Linked DNA regions of Homo sapiens: regions 2 and 3 are each linked to region 1. Evidence: promoter capture Hi-C in human tissues and cell types (Jung and others, 2019). All regions are on one chromosome and are shown on one strand. Each heading gives the region's core, a stretch centred on a gene start or on the middle of the fragment in contact. The rest is flanking DNA. Distances are from core to core; before and after follow the strand shown. Region 1 holds the start of RAF1 (Raf-1 proto-oncogene, serine/threonine kinase). Region 2 overlaps SLC6A6 (solute carrier family 6 member 6). Region 3 overlaps VGLL4 (vestigial like family member 4).

What was found. The method cuts DNA at HindIII sites, captures the fragments that hold promoters and counts their contacts. A contact is called where the count stands out against the background at its distance.
Region 2: a fragment that was not itself captured here is called in contact with the fragment with the promoter of RAF1 in region 1 in 1 of the 25 tissues and cell types used here (psoas muscle).
Region 3: a contact is called between a fragment that was not itself captured here and the fragment with the promoter of RAF1 in region 1, in 1 of the 25 tissues and cell types used here (aorta).

What each region holds. Positions count from the first base shown.
Region 1 is chr3:12,662,239-12,665,902 of GRCh38, forward strand. It overlaps RAF1 (Raf-1 proto-oncogene, serine/threonine kinase), which reads right to left and starts at 1,879. Exons shown (of 17, transcript NM_002880.4): 1 at 1,575-1,879. RefSeq lists enhancers at 961-1,571, 1,572-2,183, 1,795-2,144, 2,185-2,254 and a silencer at 1,385-1,604. The HindIII fragment of the contact is 15,309 bases long and covers 1-3,664 here.
Region 2 is chr3:14,455,563-14,459,226 of GRCh38, forward strand. SLC6A6 (solute carrier family 6 member 6) reads left to right here. Exons shown (of 15, transcript NM_003043.6): 6 at 2,388-2,520. Among named protein-coding and RNA genes, the nearest start is that of SLC6A6, 55 kb to the left of the region's middle. The HindIII fragment of the contact is 4,812 bases long and covers 1-3,664 here.
Region 3 is chr3:11,613,599-11,617,262 of GRCh38, forward strand. All of the region lies in intron 1 of VGLL4 (vestigial like family member 4), which reads right to left. Among named protein-coding and RNA genes, the nearest start is that of VGLL4, 28 kb to the right of the region's middle. The HindIII fragment of the contact is 5,661 bases long and covers 1-3,664 here.

The DNA.
Region 1 (3,664 bases), core at 629-3,128:
GCAGGAGAACTGCTTAAGCCCAGGAGTTAGAGGCTGCAACCGAGCTATGATCATGCCACTGCACTCTAGCCTGGGCGACAGAGTGAGATCCTGTTCCTTTAAAAAAAAAAAAAAAAAAAAAAAAAAAAAAAAAAGTTTGCATTGTTCTGAAAAAATAAAAAAAAATTTAAAAGTCATTAACTAAGTTAAACTAAATATGTTCAATCACTATCAGCTTCAACATCAACAAAGGGAGAAAATTATCAGCAAGAATGAAGACTCGGCAACCCATGTACAATAATCCAAATTCAACTAGTTCACTATCTACAACAAAGACAGCCCCCTCACAATTCTAGCAACTTTTATTTTACTCTCATCTCTCACCATTTCCTTCCTGCACCCCAGGCAATTTGCTGCTCCCCAAACTCATCCCAACTCCCACATGGCTCTAAGCCTTTGTACCAGCTGTTCCCTGAGCTCCTCCTCACCCGATGAGCACTTACTCACAGGTGTTTCAAAACTCGACTCAGAAGTCTCCTCGAGTGTAGAAGCTTCCTCAACTCCTCCCCAAGCAAAACTAACTGTTCTAAATCCCCATAACACTTGATAAGCCAATTCTTATCACACTGCATTGTTTTCACGCCTTAGGAGCGCAGGGAGGGCAGAGTCTCTCCACTCAGCCCACAGAGGACCAGGCAAGCAGAAACGCTCAATGAACGTGCCTTGAATTCATTTTCCACTTAGATTAAGTGACCCCCTAGAACCCGTTCACATCTCAAGGATACACTAAGTTCCATTCCTTCTTCCCACCACAGAATGAATACCAGGGGCACACCCAGAGCCCTAGAACGAGAACAATGAATGAACACGGCCGCCTCGCCTCTCACGACGTCCAAACCCCTCTCTCTTGGGCATCGACTCGCTCGCAGAGCCTCAGCAGCTGCAGAGCTGAAGCGTCCCGGCGGCTCTCGCGTCACACAAAAGACAGCCCTGGCTCTTCATTCCAAAGCGTCCTGAGGCCAATCCTCTATAAGTATCCCAAACCTTTCATTAATAACCCAGAGTCCTGATACCCAAGGCTAGTCCTGATACCCAAGAAGAGGCCCCTGTGCCTTTGTGGTAGGGCACTGGCCAGTTTCCTCCTCTCTTACCCGATTCCTCACGTCGTCTCTAAAAGGGTGTCACTTGACTGAAGTACCCTGAGAAAGGGTGCAAGCCCGGGTCCCACATTCGGCGGCCCAAGAGAAAAGGAATTGGCCCATCCAAGTGACAACAGATATGGGGCAGCTCTGGGCGGATTTTCCCACTGCCAAATATGAGGAATGCGCATGGCATAAGGGTGGCGTTGGCACGTTTCCGCCAAACACAAGGAAATTTGAGTGGGATGTGGGAACTCGGCTCGCCGGCCATGACACCGGACTCCGGGGCCCCCGCCCAACGCTACCCCAGGGTGACAACGGCCTGGCCCAAGCCCTCTGCCCGGCAGCCGCGGGGCCGCTCCATCAGCGCCACCCAGGCCCGGTCGCCCTGGAAGCCGATCCCTCAGCCCCGCCGCCCGGCTCCCCCGGCATCCACGACCCGGTCCTGCCACCTACCTGAGGGAGCCAGGCCGCCCCAACGTCCTGTCGTTCGGCGGCAGCTTCTCGCCCGCTCCTCCTCCCCGCGGCGGGTGAGGGAGCGGGAGGCGGTCACATTCGGCGCGTCCCCAGCCCAGGGGACGGAGCCCCGAGCAGCCCCCGCATCGTAGCAAACGCGCTCCGCGCCTCAGGGCACGCGCCCCAAAGCCCGGCCAGCTGACCCTTTTCGGGGCCCAAAAAAGGCAGCAGAAAGCCGTTCCCGCCTCACAATCGTTTTCCTCTTACTCCCGCCATCTAAGATGGCGGCCCAAGCGCCCGCGATTAAGACTCTCGGGCGGCCCAGACGAGCGAGCCCTCGACTCGGTGCTCGTCCTCCCGACCTGCGACGCCACCGGCTCTCCGATTCTGCGCGAGCCCTACTGGCAGTCGACTTCTAACTTGGCTCGGGCATCCATCGCTCTGGCCTGAACTCAGGCCCCGCCCCCGGGGCGTGGCCTAGCGATCTGGTGGCCGCCATTTCGAAGCTGAAGAGGTTAGGCGACGCTGACTTGCTTTCAGGAGAGGCACTCGGTAATCGAGAAGAACCGGCTTTCGGCCAGCCAGGAGTGGCCAGAGGCCTAGAAGGGGAGAGGAAGGCCTGCCTGCCCAGCATTGCAAGGCCCAGCGATCACCAGACGTGCCTCAGGACACAGGGCACAGTGTCCAACTTTGACGCGTCCTCTCCGGGCACTTTAATACCAAATCACGGCTCCGCCACTTGACAGCTATGTGGACAGTCCCTGAACCTTAAACGGTCTTTTCCTTGTGTGTAAATTCCGAGTTCATTTTTCCCCCATCACATTAGCAACAAGTTAAAAAAACTGATAATATCCGGTTTGGTCCAAGGTATATTGAAACCTGTTGTGTGCCCTCGCAGCGCTATCACAGTGGAACTTGGACATGTTAAAAGTATATATCCTTCCTCCCGGCAGTTTCACTTCTAGACACTAATTCTAGAGAAATAAGTATACACATACACAAAAAGCTATGTGTGAAGATATTTAATGCCATATTATTTGCATTCTGGAGAAACACTGGGGATGAAATGAAGATTAATAGGAAACTGGTTAAGAGAACGCTGCTACACATCCAATCTGGGTTGTCATCCATCCAAGAATGAACTAGATAGTTACTGAATTTAAAAAACAACAAAAAAAGGGCCCGGCGCTTTTTTTGGGATTACTCCTGTAATCCCAGCACTTTGGAAGGCCGAGGCAGGCGGATCACCTGAGGTCGGGAGTTCGAGACCAGCCTGACCAACATGGAGAAACCCCGTCTCTACTAAAAATACAAAAATTAGCCGGGCGTGGTGGCGGGCGCCTGTAATCCCAGCTACTCAGGAGGCTGAGACAGGAGAATCGCTTGAACCCGGGAGGCAGAGGTTGCAGTGAGCCCAGATCGCACCATTACACTCCAGCCTGGGCGACAGAGCGAGACTCCGTCTCGAAAAAATAAATAAATATAAAAAAATAAAAATACCAAATTAGCTGGGCATGGTGGTGCATGCCTGTCATCCCATCTACTCGGGAGGCTAAGGCAGGAGAATTGCTTGTACCCAGGAGGCGGAGATTGCGGTGAGCCGAAATCGCGTCATTGCACTCCAGCCTGGGCAACAAGAGCGAAACTCTTGTCTCAAAAAAAAAAAAAAAAAAGACATGGCTGGGCGTGGTGGCTCACGCCTGTAATCCCAGCACTTTGGGAGGCCGAGGCGGGCAGATCACTTGAGGTCATGAGTTTGAGACCAGCCTGGCCAACATGGTGAAACCTGTCTCTGCTAAAAAATACAAAACAAATAGGCCGGGTGCGGTGGCTCACACATGTAATCCCAGCACTTTGGGAGGCCGAGGCGGGCAGATCACGAAGTCAGGAGATCGAGACCATCCTGGCTAACACAGTAAAACCCCGTCTCTACTAAAAATACAAAAGATTAGCCGGGTGTGGTGGCGGGCCCCTGTAGTCCCAGCTACTCAGGAGGCTGAGGCAGGAGAATGGCATGAACCCGGGAGGCGGAGCTTGCAGTGAGCTGAGATCGCGCCACTGCACTCCAGCCTGGACAACAGAGTGAGACT
Region 2 (3,664 bases), core at 636-3,135, 1.8 Mb after region 1:
CAGACAGGGGCTCTACAGTGAGTCTTCCAGAACCTCAGGGAGGCTTCCTTTGAGACGGAGGATAGTGCACCTGGTGGGCCTGGGAGATGGTGGAAAGGTGCTCTTCCTCCTCTCCTGGTGCTGCCCATTCACAAGGAAGTCTTGGGCCACTGCCCAGCCTGCCCTGGCTTTCACTGAAGGTGCTGAGCCCTGCAGAATGAGGAAAGGCTTTTTGTTTTAAAGCCGTGGCAGGCGCCAGATCCACATGCTTGGCAGGGCCCCAGCTGGGATGTGGTTGGCCGCCAGCCTGCCCTATAGGGATGCCCCCTGCCCCAAGGTGCCAGGTGATCCCAGCATATAGCAGAGGACTGAAGAGATTGTTAAATCAGCATATAGCAGAGGACTGAAGAGATTGTTAAAATTTAGGCTCTGTTTTCTCTTAAAACCAGACCAACAGTGTAGTGGAGTAGAGAGAGCACTGGTTTTGGAGTCAGACAGGTGTGGGCTTGGGGTGGCAGCTCTGTGTCACCTGCTGGCTCTGTGACCATGGGCAAGTGGACCCACCAAGCCTTCATTTTCCCTATCTGTAAAATGGGGTGAATGGCCTCTACTCCTGGGATCAGATGAGATAAACTGAAAAGGCCTTGGAAAGCAGGTGGTTGCTGGTAGCTTTTATTTCGTCCATCAGCATTATCATGTTGACATCCCTGGTGCCAGGGGGAGCCCACTGATGTCGCTGTGACCAGCAAGAAGAGGGCAAAGAAAAGCTGTCCTGTCTTATGGCTGTTAGTGGGAGTATTTCACGGATCGGTCCTACAGTGACATGTGAACTTGCTGTCCTCCCAGTTGAGTCCATTCATTCACTCATTCACTCAACAGGTCTTTATTGAGGTCCTCCAATGGGCCAGATGCTGTTCTAGGTGCTGGGAACACAGCAGTAAACTAAAGAAAGGCCTTGCTTGAATACCAGTTGAGAAGGGAATCTTGGATTTATTCAAAGTCCTTATGTTGAAGCTTCTCTAAAAAAAATAAAATAAAAATGATAAAGGGTCTAGCCTGGTGTGTGTTCCGAGAACCAGAGCCCTGACTGTGGGGGTAATCCCACGGACTGGCTGAAAGCTTGGGATGTTCCAGAATGCTTCCCCAAGAGCATCCTGGGCAGGAGCTGTTATTCTCATTTTACAAAAGGGGAAACTGAGGCACAGAGTCACACTTCACTCCCTGCCCCTCCTGCATGGGAGTGTGACCTTCAGACAGGGAGCTGACTCCCATTAGAAGGAAACTCAGCTTCTTCCAGGGGTTCGCAAACACCCTGGAGCATGCAGACCCTGTCTCTTGTGGCCAGCAGCCTGTGGTGGACAGGTAACCTGGGAGGCCCAGTGGGCAGGGCCGATGTCTCTGTTCTCAGCGTGGCTGTCCTCGATCACTGTTGCAGCAGTCAGAGCTCTGGGACCATGGGTGCCACTTCTGGGCATCAAGTTTCATGGCCTGGGCTGTCAGTACCCTGCATCGCCCTGGCCTGCTTTCAGATGCTGTCATCCATAAGAATGTCTGGGAGTAGGTACTTGTGTGCTTGTTTAGCAGGGCAGCAGGAATCAGCTCGGATTGGTGGGAGGCTTAAGTCTGGACTCCAAAGACCCACGCTCTGCCGTGTCATCCTGGGCAGGGTTGGTGACTGTCCCGTGCCAATTATCCTTAAAACCGTTTACCTGCCTCTCTCTGAGACCCTCAAAACCCTGGCAGGGCAGGGGAGGAAACCAGCATTGCTTAGGTGCCGGCTGTGTGCCTGAAACTTCCCTGGGCATCTGAACACCACAGTTAACATCTGCAAAGGTTTATCAAGTGCTAGCTGCATCCCAGACCCTGAATTTAGGACCTTGTGTGACTTACATTTTAGTGAGAGATCCAGGTTACACAGGGATGAATAAAATAATAAGGGACAATATTGGGGGAGGGCAACACTTTATAGACGAGGAGCCAGAGGTCTGGGAAAGTTGGCTAACTTCGTTCTGTCAGTGACGGAACAAACAGTAGAGCTGAGAATTGAACCTAGTGTTTGGCCCACGGTTGGCACTGAAGAAGGTTCTGCTGAAGTCCCAACAGAAAATCAGTGCCCATTTCACAGATGAGGAAACTGAGGCTCAGGGGTTCCTTAACTTGCCTGAGGCCAGACTAAGTTGAACCTGGGTTTGCCTGAATCTGGAGTCTGAGTCTATCCTTTTCTTTTCTTTCCAACAACTCTGTCTCAAGACAAATGGGGATTCCTGGGTTTGGAAAGGTGAGGTGACTTATGTAAATGCAGCGCCTCAGGTGGGATTTGACCCCCAGCCTGTTAATGTCCGAGCCTTGGCTCTCTCTACTCCAGGGCCAGGCCCCTCACTGACTCCTGGCTCTGTGTTTGCTTCAAGGCGCAACGTGCTGAGCTTGTCCCCTGGAATCGACCACCCAGGCTCTCTGAAATGGGACCTCGCTCTCTGCCTTCTTTTAGTCTGGCTAGTGTGTTTCTTCTGCATCTGGAAGGGCGTCAGGTCCACTGGGAAGGTAAGTTGGACTTCTGTCCGTCCCCTGCCTCCTGGAGAGCTGTGCCAGGCTGGCCCTCTCCCCCACTTCCCGCCTGCAATTAGCCACGCCCCAAGAGGGAGGTGGCCAGTGGTGGCGTGCTGGTAAGCCCGCCCTCTGGAAAAAAGTAAAACTCAGGTTTGTTGTAGCGTTTGTCCATTTCATGGTGTCAGTGCTCCCACCATGTTTGCTTTCAAGCTGTCCACAGTTTAATGACCAGCTCACAGAATTCCTGAATATTGAAGAGCCAGGCTCTCAGGAGCCTACACGAGCTAGCCCCATCCACCACAGCTTTCTCATCTCAAGGTATTGGCAGTCAGTGCAGATGGTAGCAGATAACTAATGTTGGGCTTCTAATAAATAGGTTAGCTGGTAACAGGAGGTTAGCCAGCAACCGTGGTAAGAGCCATTAGCCACAGCATGGACCCTCGCTTTGCAGAGGGGGCCACAAGCATTCCCATCAGCATTGCAGGGAGCTTCGTGGGCCTGCCCCAAACCTACAAACTCCAAGGCTGCGTTGTAACATTATCCCCAGATAATCCAAGAGCACTTTATGGGTTGAGAGGCACTGGCTTAGATTTTAGCTGCTAAATCAGATTAACTGAGTTATAACTAACATTTCAGCCGGCACCTCCAATGTTAGTTGTTCAGGAAAGCGTTAGCTGATAATTAAATCATCCACTCATGGCCAGGGTGTTAGCTGTTAACCAAAGTATTATTCATAACTGGAGTGTTTGCTGCTGATTAATATGTCACATAGTGACTAGGATGTTAGTGATTAACAAATGTAAAATGTTAGCTTGTAATTTTAAGGTTTTAGGTATAACTGATACATTAGCAATAGTGGAAATGTTAACCCATAACTGAAATGTTACCTGTTACTAATTAGAGCTGAACTGTTCCCTGAAAACCTAGACACTGGCTGTTGTCATGGCTTTGCTGATGCCAAAGGCTGGTGCGGGGGTATGTTGTGATCACAGGTGTGAGCCTGAACCCAGGGCCCTAAGCTATAAAGAACAAAGGCGTTTGCTCATCTGCCTTTAGATAGTGCCCTGTCAACGCTTTCCCCAGTGACTCACATCCCAAAAGAGGGAACGTCTCTTTAAGATCAAAAAACCCCCAAAAG
Region 3 (3,664 bases), core at 845-3,344, 1.0 Mb before region 1:
CCACTCTACCAGTGACAGAGAAACATAGTAGAAAGTGGGCTGTGGAGTCAGAAAAATGTATGATCTTAGCAGTCTCTTCATCTCTCTTGAGCCTCTATCCAACTACCGTGAGGGATTTCTATGCGAATCAATGAGAATTCATATAAAGGTCCCAGCCCAGAACAGGCAATTTATTTATTACACTGTTTGTTGGATTCCATCTGTTGGTGCAATTCCCATTTGAAGGATAAGATGGCTGAACAAAGGGAACCTCTAACTGTCCTTCTCGCTACTCATGACAGGCCCCCGCCTCGAATACAGTCAGCCACTAGCCGATGGAAGGGGTCAGGAGACACAGTACCCAAGAGCCTGGGTGAGTGGGTGCTCCGAATCTGCTCCACCAGGAGCCGGCGACGTCATCTCAGAGCAGCTGCCTGACTTTCTATGACTGTTTCCACATGTGTGAAAATGGTAGTGTGAACCCACACACAGGCTCAGAGCGATACCCGGCACGGTGCCGCCTCCTCCCCACACACACTCTGGACTTACAGGCTTTCTTCCATGCACGTTTCTCCCTCCCTAGAATGTGTTCAGAAGCCCTCTCTGCCAATGCATACTCATCTGCACTTTCAAAACCCGACTTGAGTGCCTCTTGTCAGCCTCAGCCCCAAGAGCACCCCTTTTGGTGCCATCTACCTGGGCTGAGCTGCCTGGCAGCGTCCCTTGTGACGTGCTGCTGGCTCCAACTCAAAAACTACTCATTTCTCAGCAACACCATTGTGTGCTACCGCCAAACAGGCGATCTTGCTCTCTGCAGTAGGTTCCAGTCCAGACCCTGAGGAGTAAGATGGTGGTCCCGGAAACCAGTTCAAATTTCTCACTGGCATACAGAGTGCTGAAGGAAGGCTGTGTATAGGCCCCCCGATTCTGATCGTGAAATCTCATTATCAGTTCCAAGCCCCCCACGGAGCTGCAGTGGGCAGGTAGCTGGGACGAGACACATTCCCAAGTCAGATATCTCAGCCAGCCATCCAGGTTTCCCACGGAAATTCATTAACTCACTGTATTCCTTACTATTGCTAAATATGCTGGTTTCAGAAGCCACAGAGTGAATTTTCCAAGGATTAAAATAGGACACGAAGTTCAAAGATGTCTCAGTCCTGACACAGTGGAAGCAGCATTAGGGACTTGGGCACGCACACCATTCGAGAGCCTGACAACCCTGAAGACAAGTAAAGCGAGTAACTTAAAGTCAGCTTCAGTCAACCTTACTGCTGAAACAGCTACATGCCCAAGTAAATCATTTTAATTTTTCCAACTTTTAATTTCAAAAAATTTTAAAGCTACCCAAAAAGTTGAATGAGAACAAGAACATCCCATTCTCTTTACCTTGATTCACCTATCATAAGCATTTTTGTCAGTTTGTTTTAGCTACATGCATACACGTTTTCTTGCTGTGATTTTTGAAAGTATTAATAAGTGGGAGACATCTTATTTCACCCATAAATACTTAAGAACAGGGACATTCTCCTTCAGAGCCACAATACCATTATCATACCCAACAAAGTTAAAGTTGACGTATTGTCATTATCTAATATCCAGTTCACATTCCAACTTCCCGAACTGACCTGTCTCTTTTTTGGTGGCAGGGAGGGTTGGGGGAGGACTTCATTAATTAAGGGTCATATGCTGCTCAGTGAAGTTGTCATGTTTCTTTAATCTCCTTTCATCTAAAGGAATTCTTTTCTCTTTCGTGACACTGATGTTTTTAAATAATGCAGACCAATGAGCTGTCCCTACAAATTTTGGTGGCCTAATCATTTCTTTATGATTAGATCTGAGTTAAATCTTTTTGGCAAGAATACTACCCAGGTGATACTGTGTGCTCCCACCGCACTGCACCACACCGGAAGGACCTGGCGCCAGCCCATCCCATCACTGGGGAAGCAGAGCCTGCAGTACACACAGATTGCTCCTTGCTCTGTTAGAAACAAGTAAGCTCCTCCCTTTTGTAGTAATAGTTTGGGGGTGTGAATCCTGTCATTGTCACTCAATCACATACTCATTTTTTTGTTTGGGTTCTGTTTTTCTATTATTTTTATTTCCCATACTCATTTATTACACACCTTTAATTTGCAGTTTGAGAGTGCAGAGCTAAGCTGGATTAAAGACAGGGTCCCCAGATACAATTCAGCACAAGTCCAACTGGGGACACATTTTCATACAAAACACATTGAAAGAAAGACAGACAATACAATCAGGAGTAGCTTATACTCTGCCTGGAATAAAGCAGGTGCTTAGCAAATATTTGTTGAATAAGGGACCTGTATGGTTCAGGCAAATAAAAGCTATTAGGCCAATCTGCATCCTTTCCATTCTTCCTTCTCACATCACCTCACCCCTGGGGCTGAAAGGAAGTCTTCGAACGTGGCCACCCTGCCTCCCACCACGAGAGATCAGGATCCCTGACTGATTGGATTGCCGGAGTAAAGGCTCAACTGCCTCAACCTGATCAGCCCATCTCACCCTCTCTCTCCAGCCTTACCCATCTCTCTTTCTCTTCCCTCCCCCGCCCCTCAGACTCCACTGCTCCTGAGGTGTGGTCTGCACACGCAGGGGATGCCTCCCACCTCCCCTCCCACCTGCCTGGAACAGTCCCTCACTTTCAGGTCTGGTCTAGAGTGCAAGCCTCACCTTCTTCAAGCTCTTCCTCAGCAAGTAAGTGTTCCTTGGTCTTCAGTGTCTGAAAACATTTACAAGCATCCTGCGTTATGGCTCTTAATCCTATCGCCTAACGGTGGTACTATTTACAAACATTTTCACATGGCTAGGAAGCCTTCAGGCCACTTCCTAGACCCAGCTCATTCCCTAGGGCCTCCTTTCCTTTCCTAGAGCAGGCTCCAGGGATAAGCCCTGTCCTTGTCCTTTGCTATGTCCTTTCATAAAAGCTGCCACCCATGCTCTCTTATTGAGACAGTCCTCATCCCAAAACGATAGTGAAGTGGGACTTGTGTCCCTGCCACATCACCCCAAAAACTGACACATGGACATGGAACCTTTATTTAAAAGGCTAATTGTTGAATCCAGTCCTGTCTAAAGAATGTATACAATTTAGGACTGGCAGAAAAAAAATCAGAGGATGTGGTTCAGTGAAAGGCATTGTTGTGCCTGGGATGTTTGTAGGACTACTCCAGGAACTAAGGAAAACACACAGATGTTTGAGATCTGGTCTTTGCCTCGAAAATTTTAGTTCTAGTGGGAGTGATAAGTTATGGAGATAAAGAACTGTAAGGATGGAACATTATAAATGCCAAAATAAATCAGATGCTCTTGAAATGGGTGAATTGCATGGTATATTAGTTATATCTCAATAAAGCTGTTACCCCCAAAGAGCTTCTGGTTATGTAGGTTAATCTACTGACATTTATCATAGTAGGAATTAAAATGGGGAAGTTTTAAAATATTAATTAATTTGAAATAAAAAATAAAAAGAGATGCACTTTTTATTTTTTTAAAAAAAGAGAGCGATGCCACACACATTTTATATGAGGGAGACAATAATTCTAACTCTAACAGGAGTGGGATTTGAAAAACAGGCAGGATTTGGACACTTAGAAATGATGGGTATGAGCATTCCAGGCAGGTACAAGAGTATGAGGCAAGGCAGAGAGCAGGAATGATGCCA